Regions from separate parts of the Homo sapiens genome. Here region 1 is linked to region 2. Evidence: promoter capture Hi-C in 16 types of primary human blood cells and fetal thymus (Javierre and others, 2016). All regions are on one chromosome and are shown on one strand. The core of a region is centred on a gene start or on the middle of the fragment in contact, and the rest is flanking DNA. Distances in the headings are between cores, read along the strand shown. Region 1 has its middle 28 kb from the start of FAM136A. Region 2 holds the start of CLEC4F (C-type lectin domain family 4 member F).

What was found. Contacts are between HindIII fragments. The CHiCAGO score rates a contact against its expected background, and 5 or more counts as called.
Region 1: a contact is called between a fragment that was not itself captured here and the fragment with the promoter of CLEC4F in region 2, in 1 of 17 cell types (M2 macrophages). The highest score is 6.4, in M2 macrophages.

What each region holds. Positions count from the first base shown.
Region 1 is chr2:70,327,728-70,333,197 of GRCh38, reverse strand. No RefSeq gene overlaps it. Among named protein-coding and RNA genes, the nearest start is that of FAM136A, 28 kb to the right of the region's middle. RefSeq lists a silencer at 3,087-3,381. The HindIII fragment of the contact is 548 bases long and covers 2,101-2,648 here.
Region 2 is chr2:70,817,257-70,823,632 of GRCh38, reverse strand. It overlaps CLEC4F (C-type lectin domain family 4 member F), which reads left to right and starts at 3,034. Exons shown (of 7, transcript NM_173535.3): 1 at 3,034-3,170; 2 at 3,742-3,858; 3 at 4,189-4,278. The coding sequence starts at 3,110. The HindIII fragment of the contact is 10,753 bases long and covers 1-6,376 here.

The DNA of each region.
Region 1 (5,470 bases), core at 1,125-3,624, 490 kb after region 2:
GAAGCATTGCTGGAACAGGGAAAGGCTGGCATTGAAGTGGAGAAAACCCTTCTATGCCCACCAGAAAGGTGGGAGCATCCCTGGAGGGAATCTTCTCCAACTGCCCTTTGCCCCATTGAAAATTCAGATGAGAAGAGGAGGCACAACGTGTCCTAGCTGCACACCTCCTGAGGTGAAGAAGAGAGACAGAATTATGGAGAGTGAGATGCTGAGGCCTCTGTACCACACCTGTCTCCCTAGGTGCAGGGCAGATGACCAGGGGCCTCATGCAAGGGACACTGGGCGCCACGAGAATCACGAACACAAACCATTAGCCCATAATCTACCTTTACCTTATTAAAATGATTCCCCCACTCCTACATTTCACGTTGTTTTCCTCCCTCCAGGAAGACTATCAACCCCAAATGATTACGCTTCCCTCCCTTCACACTCCCACCCCACCCATCCCACACTTGGTGCTGCTATGAATACCCCCATTAAAGCTCATTCCTCTGAACTCAGGCTCTGCCCTCTGTTAACAGGTGGCTTTTCTGCAGAAAGAAGTACCCATGGGCCAGGGGCGGTGTTCACACCTGTAATCCCAGCACTTTGGGAGGCTGAGGCGGGTGGATCACCTGAGGTCAGGAGTTCGAGACCAGCCTGACCAATATGGCAAAACCCCGTCTCTACTGAAAATACAAAAAAGTATCCCAGCATGGTGGTGGGTGCCTGTAATCCCAGCTACTGGGGAGGCTGAGGCAGGAAAATCACTTGAACCCAGGAGGCAGGGTTGCAGTGAGCCAAGATCGTGCCACTGCACTACAGCCTGGGCAACAAAGAGCAAAACTCGGCCTCAAAAAAAAAAAAAAAAAAAAAACCCAGGAAGCTGATCCTGTCAAACTAGGCAGAAGGCAAATAGAAACTGTCCCCAGCTCTGGGTGTGGGGCCCTCAGCTGGCAGGACTAGGGGGTCAGTGATGGGTGACCTCACAAGCTAAATCACCTGGGTCAGGGCTGAGTGACCTTGATAAAAGGTACTATGATAGCTCACTTCAGCCTTGAACTCCCAGGTTCAAGCAATCCTCCCACCTCAGCACCAACCCCTGACGGCCAGGTAGCTGGGACTACATGCACATGCCACCATGTTTGGCTAATTTTTATCATAAAGATAACACTTTTTCTTAAAAAAAATGTTCTTTTTGAGACAAAGTCTCACTCTGTTGTCCAGGCTGGAGTGCAGTGGCGCAATCTCAGCTCACTGCAACCTCTGCCTCCTGGGTTCAAGTGATTCTCATGCCTCAGCCTCTCAAGTAGCTGAGATTACACGTGCATACCACCTCGCCTGGCTAATTTTTGCGTTTTTAGCAGAGATGGGGTTTCACCATCTTGGCCAGGCTGGGCTCAAACATCTGACCTCAAGTGATCTCCCCACCTCGGCCTCCCAAAGTGCTGGGATTACAGGCATGAGCCACTGCCCCCAGCCTCTTTTTCTTAAATTATATTATCCATAAATTCAGTGCAATCCCAATCAAAATCACAATTTTTATAAAACTTCATGAACATAAAGCATTAGCCCAGAATCTACCCCATGGGACCCAGGGACTTCAGCCATCAGCACAGGGGGCTCTTTTTCCCATAATGTTCACATTTATCAAAGTAATGCAGTCGTTAAGAAAATAAGGCAAAATATTTTAAAAGTAGAAAGAGGAACACAGTTTCACCCACTTCCACCTTCAAAACAACTTTGCAAACGTGGCAGTGTATCTCCCTTCAAATGTTTATAAAATCTGCAAGTTTGCTCTAACATAGAACAATGCCATCAAATATATTTGGTGGTCCTAAAAGTCACACCGTGAGGACAGGCACCCAGAGCACAGTTGCATTTAGAATAAACTCCAAGCTCCTTCACGCAGCCTGCAGGCCGGTATGGTCTGGCCCTGCCTCTGTTCCCGGTCTCATCTCCCGACCCCACTGGCCTCTCTGCCCCTCAGGCAGACGGTTTTTTCAGTCCTGGAAGGCACCCAGCCCTGTCCATCTTGGTGACCCCAGGTGGGCCATTCTGCTCCTAATGTGCTTTGGGCGCCCCTGCAGCCTGGTTCACATCCTTTCACAATTCAAAGCTTGGTTCTGGGGCCTCTCCTGGCTTCCCCCATCCCCATCTCAGTTAAAGCCCCTCTGTTATTCTCTTTCACAGCCCTCTACCTTTTCTGAATAATACGTCCCCCAATTTATAATGATACACTTTGCTTATCTATTTGGCATCTGTGTCCCCCACTGGAGGGATATGGGCAGGGTGACATGTGTTTTGCTCCTCTCTGGTGCTCCCCTCCTTGGTGTTCTTTTGTTCACATCTCCCTGTTTCATCTGCTCCAGCCCAACTTGTTCCCAGTCCCATCAGCTTCCAACCTCATGGTTCAAATCCAATGTATAGTCTCTCTTTGCAACCCCCAAATAGTGTCTCCAGCTGTGAATTCTGTTTCTCTCCTCTAATAGGGGGCAGTCTCCTCCCTGCTTTTTTTTTTTTTTTTTTTTGCTTCAGCTGGGAGGTGAGCAGCCCCATCTGTTCCCACCCAGGCTGGCCCTAAGCAGCAGTCTCTACACTGCCGCCGAAGAAGTTCCTGCAGACTTCTCCCCGCCCCTAGAATCAAACACATCCACTAACATCAAGCTTGAGCCACAAAGTTCCAGAGGTACCTCTGGGTTGCTGGGAGGAGCAGCAGTAACTTAATGCTGGTGTCTGGGGTGCAGAGGAGAGAGGGCCCCACTCTGAGCTCACAGAGTGCTGGAGGTTCAGGCTGTGGAACACCGGAACACAGATGTTCCCCAGGAGCCTAGATGCCCACTCAAACCTTCTTAGGCACTTTTGAATCTTCTTTTTTTTTTTTCTTTTTGAGACGGAGTCTCGCTCTGTCAACCAGGCTGGAGTGCAGTGGCGCTATCTCGGATCACTGCAAGCTCCGCCTCCCAGGTTCACGCCATTCTCCTGCCTCTGCCTCCCGAGTAGATGGGACTACAGGCGCTCACCACCACGCCCGGCTATTTTTTGTATTTTTAGTAGACACAGAGTTTCACCGTGTTAGCCAGGATGGTCTCGATCTCCTGACCTCGTGATCCGCCCGCCTCGGCCTCCCAAAGTGCTGGGATTACAGGCGTGAGCCACCGCGCCCAGCCGGCACTTTTGAATCTTTACAGGTCCCACCATCTTGGGTGAGGCAAAGTACAGTTTACCTTCATTATTCACAGTAGTTATGTTCTATAAAGCTGGCTGGAGGCCAAGGGCAGTGGCTCACGCCTATAATAGCAGTACTTTGGAAGGCTGAAGTGGAAGGATCATTTGAGGCCGGGAATTTGAAAGCAGCCTGGGCAACATATTGAGACCGCATCTACACAAAAGAAAATTTGTTTTAATTGGGCAGGCATAGTGGCCCATGCCAGTAGTCACAGCTGCTCAGGAAGCTGAAGCAGGAGGATCTCTTGAGCCCAGGAGTTCAAGGTTACCGTGAGCTATGATCACACCACTGCACTCTAGCCTGGGCAACAGAACAAGACTGTCTCTAAAAAAAACAAAAGCTCAACCAAGAGCGTCTCTGATATTTAAATAACGATTGTAGAGAACTTTATAGTTCTTAACACATTTGCATGCATGTGTGTGTGTGTGTGTACACATATATGGCTAAATTAACAGCAGATCCTCAAGACTAACCACAGTAAACAAATTGCCATGATGCCTTTTCCATGAGAACTGCTTTGTACACCCTGGCAATCCATCAGAACAGAAGCCAAAGCCCCAGTGTGCCCTTTTGTACTCTGTACTCCAGCTCACCTGCTGCTTCCCAGCTCACCTGTTTTCCCAAAGTTACAGACAGAGGACAGACAACATTGTTAAACTCTAGAGTGATTCCCATGGGCAGGGCAGGGCAGCGGGAGTGAGTAGGAGGGTGTTTTCTTCAAGTTGAAGGAGAGGAAAGAAAAAATATCCAGCTGTAGCAATCAGATTGTCGGCACCAAAGACAGAGTGACTCAGGGCAGGTCCTTGGCAAGCAGGCACTGAGCCAGGCTGGGCCCACACCCTGGAGAATGAGAATAGCATTCTGTGATCAAAGTGGGAAGGAATGCATCCATTCCGGAAACCAGGTGAGGCAGGGTTGTCATTAAGACAATCTGGGCAGAGCTGTGATTACAGAGGGAGCAAGCTGACGGGATGAAAACGGAAATCCACAGCGCCTGCTCCCTGCTGAGCAGCCCAGCTTGCCCATGCTGCCCTTTGGTCCAGCTAATGTCTCTGGGCAGTGATAAGGCCTTAAGTATCTGTGGATAAAGCACCTGATAGTTAACTAAAAATAATAATAATTTCAAAGTTTTGTTGAGTGAGCTTTAGTATTATATGAACTATCAGTCCTCATTCTTTTTCTCATTAATTAGGATGGATGTTCTAACAAGAGAAATTTTATATAACTAAAGAAGACACTTTTTTTTTTTTTTGAGATGGAGCCTATGTCACCCAGGCTGGAGGGCAATGGCGCGATCTTGGCTCACTGCAACCTCTGCCTCCCGGGTTCAAGCGATTCTCCTGGCTCAGCCTCCCAAGTAGCTGGGACTACAGGCATGCGCCACCACACCTAGCTAATTTTTTTTATTTTTTATTTTTTATTTTTTGAGACCGAGTCTCGCTCTGTCGCCCAGGCTAGAGTGCAGTGGCGCGATCTCGGCTCACTGCAAGCTCCGCCTCCCGGGTTCACGCCATTCTCCTGCCTCAGCCTCCCGAGTAGCTGGGACTACAGGCGCCTGCCACCACACCCAGCTAATTTTTTTGTATTTTTAGTAGAGATGGGTTTCACCGTGTTAGCCAGGATGGTCTCCATCTCCTGACCTCGTGATCCGCCCGCCTCGGCCTCCCAAAGTGGTGGGATTACAGGCGTGAGCCACCGTGCCCGGACTAATTTTTGTATTTTTAATAGAGACGGGGTTTCACCATGTTGGCCAGGCTGGTGTCAAACTCCTGACCTCAAATGATCCGACCACCTCGGCCTCCCAAAGTGCTGGGATTACAGCTGTGAGCAAGAAGACACATTTATTAAAGAAAACTTAGAAACCCCTGTAAACATTCAGAAGAAAATTATAGTCATTTCTAATCCAATCACTCCTATGTGATGACCCTTAACAGTTGTGCTGTGATTCTTCAGATTTTCTTCTAGGCATGTATATATAACATTTGTTTCTTATTTTAAAAATAAATCATGATGCATAAACTATTTTGTTACTTGAGTTTTTTCACTCAATCAAATGTAACATACTTCTTTCTTACCAAAAAAAATTCTCCTACAGTGTGGTTCTTTGTGTCTGTGGGGTACTTCATTGCACGGTCCTTTTGTTAGTTATTTAATCTGTTTCCTGTTCTTACACGTTTAGTTGCTTCCAAACGTGGAATATTATAAATGCTGTACTATACATCCTAGTTCACATATCTTTCCAAACATGTCTGCTTATCTCCC
Region 2 (6,376 bases), core at 1,785-4,284:
GGAAATAGAAGAGCTAGGGCCCGGAGGGTGGGTGGGGAGGCCAGGGAAGAACTATGCCCCTCTCCTGGCCCAGACTCTGACCTTCCAGTTGGGCAAGGGATCCGTAGAGTTCTGCCTTCGAGGTTCCCTCAGCTCTCAGGCCTCAGGAGGAAATAGGTCCTGAGTAGGTCCAGCCTGGGCCCTTCCTGTGTATGGGGAAACAGAAACCAAGACAAGCCCTTTCTTTTCAGCCACCAGCCCTGGGTGTCTGATGGGCCTCTAGGGAGGCACCTCCAGCAGCTTCCATCCCATTCTATGTGGCGGTGAAGGAGTCTGGCAGACACCACTGGGATCTCAGGCAGCGCTGTTGATAGTCCAGAAATAGGTGCCTTCACCCTTCATTCCTGCTGTGCCCTCCTCTCTAAGGTCAGTTTTCAACAAACAGGAGGTAAAAGGCAGCAAATGGTGGCTCTGCACTCTACACATTGGGCCCCTAACACTGCACAGTTCAACACACACACACACACACACAAACACACACACCCCCACCATCATGAACTGGGTGTGGGCAACCGCTCCCTTCCTGTCTGCAGATCCCCTACCCACGGGGCGACTTGCTTGCCGGGTTGACATCAGCCACGCATGGCACAGGCTCCTCCTGGGCCAAAGCTGTTCTCCTGGCCCGGCCTCAGAGGAGGCACGTTCCGTGTGGCTTCTCCACCTTTGTGGTTGGTCTGCAGTGTTGTTAGTTGGCAGCTGGGGACCTATAAGAGGCTGACCCCAGGATCTGTGCAAAAGACATGAGAATGGGACATAGGAACAGAGGGTGAAAGTAGCAAAGAAACAACACAACATGGATGGAACAAGCCATTTGCAAGGTTGTGAGTTTGTTTAAGAGTTGCTATGATGGTGTAATATGTAATTAGACTTTCCAAAGTGAAAGAAAATGTGATTTATTTCAAAAAGATTGTGACCGTTTGAAGTAATGGAGACAAGAAGGAACCAAAGAACAGGAATCTGCTGGTAACCCCAGCACTGGCTTTTAGAGGGGTTCCTTGACCAGCCATGGGAATATTGGTTCTGTTCAGCTGGTAACCCCTGTGGCAGGGACAGGGACATCACGTTTGCACAGCTCCATGGCACTGTCCACTGGGATGCCTCATGCCTTCTCTTCTAATGCTAGGCCCACCCAGCAGCAGGAACCCCTGAAGCAGTATCTGTTCCTCCTGGAAGGGATAGGGCTCATTGAAAGCCACACATTGGCCCCAGCCTGCTCCATCAGATTCTTTGGAGTTAGTCTTGAGAACCTGGTCACCTCAGGAGGCATGGATCCAATCAGCTAAAGTTGGGGCCTGCTTGGTATTTTCTGACACCACTTCTGACACCAAATGTGTGCTTTTTCCTGACACCAGCCGATTCTCTGACACCCGCTGGGCATCCAACAATTCAAACAGATTCTAACACTAACTTCCAGAGTTAGCACAGATCTCACAGGGTAAGGCCTCAGTCCCACAAGACTGCCCCCCTTCAGATGCTAGCTACAAGTGAGGTAGTGACCCCACTTCTGCCTGGTCAACTACAAATTTGGGGGTTCTGGCTAGGCAAGGTGGCTCATGCCTGTAGTCCCAGCACTTTGGGAGGCTGAGGTGGGAGGATCACTTGAAGCCAGGAGTTCCAGACCAGCCTGGGGTATAAAAAGAGATCCCATCTCTACAAAAAAATAAAAATAAAAAATTAGCCAGGTATGTTGGCACACACCTGTAGTCCCAGTTATGCTGGGGTTATGCTGGATGTGACAGAGGCTGGGATGTTGGGGCTGAGAACTGAGGATCACTTGTGTCCAGGAGTTCAAGGCTGCATTGACTTATGATCGTACCACTGCACTCCAGCCTGAGTGACAGAGGGAGACCCTGTCTCAAACAAAAAATTAGGGGGTTTCTGCAACAACCTCTCAGTTTTCATAATTCACTAGAACAATTCACAGAACTCAGAAAAACACTGTACTTCCTATTCTTTTATTGTAAAGGACAAAAACAGCCTGATGAAGAGGTACACAGGGCAAGGCCCAGTGGGGTCCCAAGTGCAGGAGACTCTGTCTCTGTGGAGTCAGGGCATGACACCCTCCTGGCATGTGGATCACCAATCCCTAAGCTCCTTGAATCTCATTTTTTAAGAGTCGTTATAGCCCAGACCCCAGGCCATCTCCCATACCTGGAGGTCTGGGAGTAGGGAATGGGAGTGGGTGGCTGAAAGTCCCAGTCTTCCAAAGTCTAATCCCATGTTTGGTCTTTCTGGGACCAGCCTCCAGCCTGAAATTATCTAAGGGTCCACCCTGTGTCACCTCATTAGCATAAACCCAAGTGTAGTCCTAAGGGGCTTATTATGAATAACAAAAAACACTCCTGTCACCCAGGAAACTCTAAGCGTTTTAGGAGTTCTGTGTCAGGAACTGAGATGAAGACCAGATATATTTTTTACAGAGTTGTCCCTTGGTATCTGCAGGGGATTTGTTTCAGGACTCCCATGGGTACCAAAGTCCACAGATGCTCAAGTCCCTTGTACAAAATCATGTAGTATTTTTATATAACCTCCGCACATCCTCCTGTATACTATAATTCAGTTGTGAGTCCCCAAGTGGCTGGTCACCCCGCTTCCTCCTTTGACCTGCAAATATCGGCCGCACTGACCTGGCCCCTCTTTTACCTGACTCCTTTTACTTAAGAGGTTCTGAGGCTAGAATTAAAGGTCAGCCATAGTCATAAGGATGTTTTCTGTGCAAAGCTGAGACCCCCTTCCTAGGTGCCAGTCCCAGCCCCCAGAGAAGAAGAGGTGTGTTTGGGGTTATGCTGGATGCGGCAGAGGCTGGGATGATGGGGCTGAGAACTGACGGGAAGGTGCTAATGGGAAGAGGAAGAAAATAGGGCAGATGGGTATCTGGGAGCCTCTAGGGGAGGGGCCCACTGGGGCGGGTTTCTGCAGAGTCAGGCAGGGAGGGAGGAAGAGCTGGGAGGGTGGTCAGGAGCATATAAGTGTGGGTGTCTCAGCTTTGCTTCCACTGCCATTGGTCCACGGGACGGCCCTTCCAGGAGCCAGTGGCTGGGAGCAGTGCTGGAGGATCAAGGAAGCAGAGATGGACGGTGAGGCAGTCCGCTTCTGCACAGATAACCAGTGTGTCTCCCTGCACCCCCAAGGTGAGAAAACTGGGGCCCCAGCTCTTGCCCAGTGAGGGAGTAGCCTGCCTGTCCTTTGGCCCTCTGCCATAAGGCAGCTTATTGCTGTCTTATTGCTCTCCCCAGACCCTTGTCCTTGGGGATGCAGACCTGGCAAGAGAAAGGGGATGAACTTTGAATTCAGATGGTCCTGGCTTGGAATCCCGGCTCTGCACACTGAGCTGGTCCTGTGAGGCCTCCCTCCCTTCCTTTCTTCTTTCATTCAAACTACACTTTTGTTGCTCTGTGCTCTGTGCCAGGTTCTGTGCCCTGTGCACCACCAAAGCCTCCTTGAGATTTGGAGATCGGTGGTCTCGGTCTCAGAGCTCCTCAGCTCTGTGTTGCTACCATATCCACATCTAGCTCTGGTGAACAGCCCAAAGTGTTTTGTCTTCCTTCTCCATAACCACCTGCATGATAAGCATGGCAGGAGTTATCATCCCCATTAGACAACCCAGGAAACAGAATCAGAGAGGCTGTGTCTCAGCCTGCACAGCACCCTCTTACCTTGCACAGCACCCTCTCACCTTGGACACTGCCTTCTCCCCTGCAGAGGTGGACTCTGTGGCAATGGCTCCTGCAGCCCCCAAGATACCGAGGCTCGTTCAGGCTACCCCGGCATTTATGGCTGTGACCTTGGTCTTCTCTCTTGTGACTCTCTTTGTAGTGGGTAAGCCCCCAGGTGACCCAAATCTCACTAACTTTCTCTCCTTTCAGCACAAAGTCCCCAGGGGCCCCAGATGCACACTCTCTGGGCCTCTCTGCTCCCAGAAAGATCATTCCACCTCCAGCTCCAGGCCCAAGCCACAGCTTCCCTGGGAACAGATAAAGGCCACTGTCCAAGGGGGAGCCTCCCAAGAACTGAGGTTCATGAGGGAAACCCTGGGAGGGTCTTTGCTGCTATCTCCCCGGTTCTGGAACTCTACCTCTGTGTGGGACAGCGTATCCTCCCAGGCTCAGGGCTGGGGATTTGCTGACCTGGAAAAATGGAATGTCTCAGTTCAACAGCAGACAAGACCTGTTCCGAAGCCTGTGCAAGCCGTAATTCTGGGAGACAACATTACTGGGCATTTACCTTTTGAACCCAACAGTGAGTAGCCACAGTGGGGGTGGGGTGCAGAGGGAACTGGGGCCTTCAGATGCTCAGACCCTAGGATGAGCTTCTCTCCTGGTACCCTCTGACCACTGAATGGGCTCCACCATCCTCACAGAAAGAGATAATTTTTTAAAAACACAGTTTTATTGAGGTCTAATGGTGTATATATTTAAAGCATACAATCTGTTAAGTTTTGACATATGTGTGTGCCCCTGAAACCATCACCACAATCATCATCACATAGTCATCCTCCTCACCCCAAAGTTTCCTTGTGGCTCTTTGTAATTCCTTCCTCTCCCTTCCTCTCCTCATCCCTGGGCAGCCACAGATCTACTTGCTGTAACTATAGATTAGTTTGCTTTTTCTAGAGTTTTATAGATAAGAGATCATAGAGTATGTACTCTTTGTTCTTTGCTAGTCATGTGATTTGCAAATATTTTTCTCTCAGTCTGTGACTTGTCTTGTCATTCTCCTAACAAGATTTTAATTTTGATAGTCTAATTTATCATTTTATTTCTGTTATGGATTATTCTCATGATCTCGTATGTGAGAAATCTGCCTAATCCAAGGCTACAAAGATGTTCTCCTTTGTTTCTGGAAATTGTACAGTTTTTAGTTTTAGTTTTTGTTTTTGTTTTTTGACGGAGTCTCGCTCTGTCACCCAGGCTGGAGTGCAGTGGCGTGATCTCGGCTCACTGCAAGCTCTGCCTCCCAGGTTCATGCCATTCTCCTGCCTCAGCCTCTGGAGTAGCTAGGACTACAGGCGCCCGCCACCACGCCTGGCTAATTTTTTGTATTTTTAGTAGAGACGGAGTTTCACCGTGTTAGCCAGGATGGTCTCGATCCCCTGACCTCGTGATCTGCCCACCTCAGCCTCCCAAAGTGCTGGGATTACAGGCGTGAGCCACCATGCCCAGCCCGGTTTTTAGTTTTACATTTAGGTCTCTGCCTCATTTGAGTTAATTATTGTATAATGGTGTGAAATTGATTGTTCCAGCACCATTTGTTGAAAAAGTTATCTTTCTCCGTGAATTGCCTTTGCACCTTTGTTGAAATTCGATTGTCCATATGTGTGGGGGTCTACTTCCGTATTCTCCATTCTGTCGCATTGATTTGTTTGTCTATCTTTACAAAGCAGAATCTTTGACTGAACTCCCAGTACCTTGAAAGGTCCCCTCTCTTACCTTAGCACAGTAACTGAGGTCTCACACATCTACATAGGCAGTGCATGAGAAATAGTACATGGATGCTCCAGAAAGGGTCCCTGCCATCTTGGGTTTTTCTCCCTATTCCTGAGGGGAGACTGGAATCAGAAGGGGATCATGGATGTGTGAGATTAGGTCCTAGTTCATGAGGTGAACAAAGGATGCTAGCAGGACCAGAGGTAGATGCATGTGAGGTTGGTGGGAAAGACCTTGCAGATTAAAGGGGCTGTGGGGTCTCCTTCAACGACCCCAGCGCAAGGCCTTTTACTCAGGTTTCCTGTATCCTCAAACTGTTCTGTAGGGACCCTTGCCCTATGTAACACTGGGGGTGCTGGCTCTTTAAAAGGCCATCTCAGCTGAGGTCCAGTGTTAGTTACCTGGAGGGCATGGCATGCCTCTATCATAGCCCTGTTGATTGAACAGGGTACTTCCTCCCAGCACACCTATTTTGTTTTGTTTCTGTTTCTTTCCTTTGTGTTTTCTTCTCCATGGAATTTGCCATCATAAAACTTATGTTTGTGGTGGTTTTTATCAAGTAACAATGGTGAATCAAGAGGCTCTATGCTTGGTGTACAAATATAATGTAGGACTAACCACAGGCTTTATTCATACCTATTTTCTTTCCCATAATGACCCATCTGTGGTGAAATTCCAGTAAAATTAAACTTCAACAGCTCTAAATGATAAAATCAGTTACTTTCAAGTTGAGCAATTATAACGACAAAATAATCCAAGCCTTACCAGCATGACTCCTGGTGGCAGCTGGCTTACAGCAGGCAAGCATTTCAATCCTTCTGACCCCTTCATTTGTGTGTAACAGTGAATTAGATCTTTGTTTCTTGGCCCACATTCTCAGGTGGACCGTCCCCAGGGTCTGGGTGGCTGTG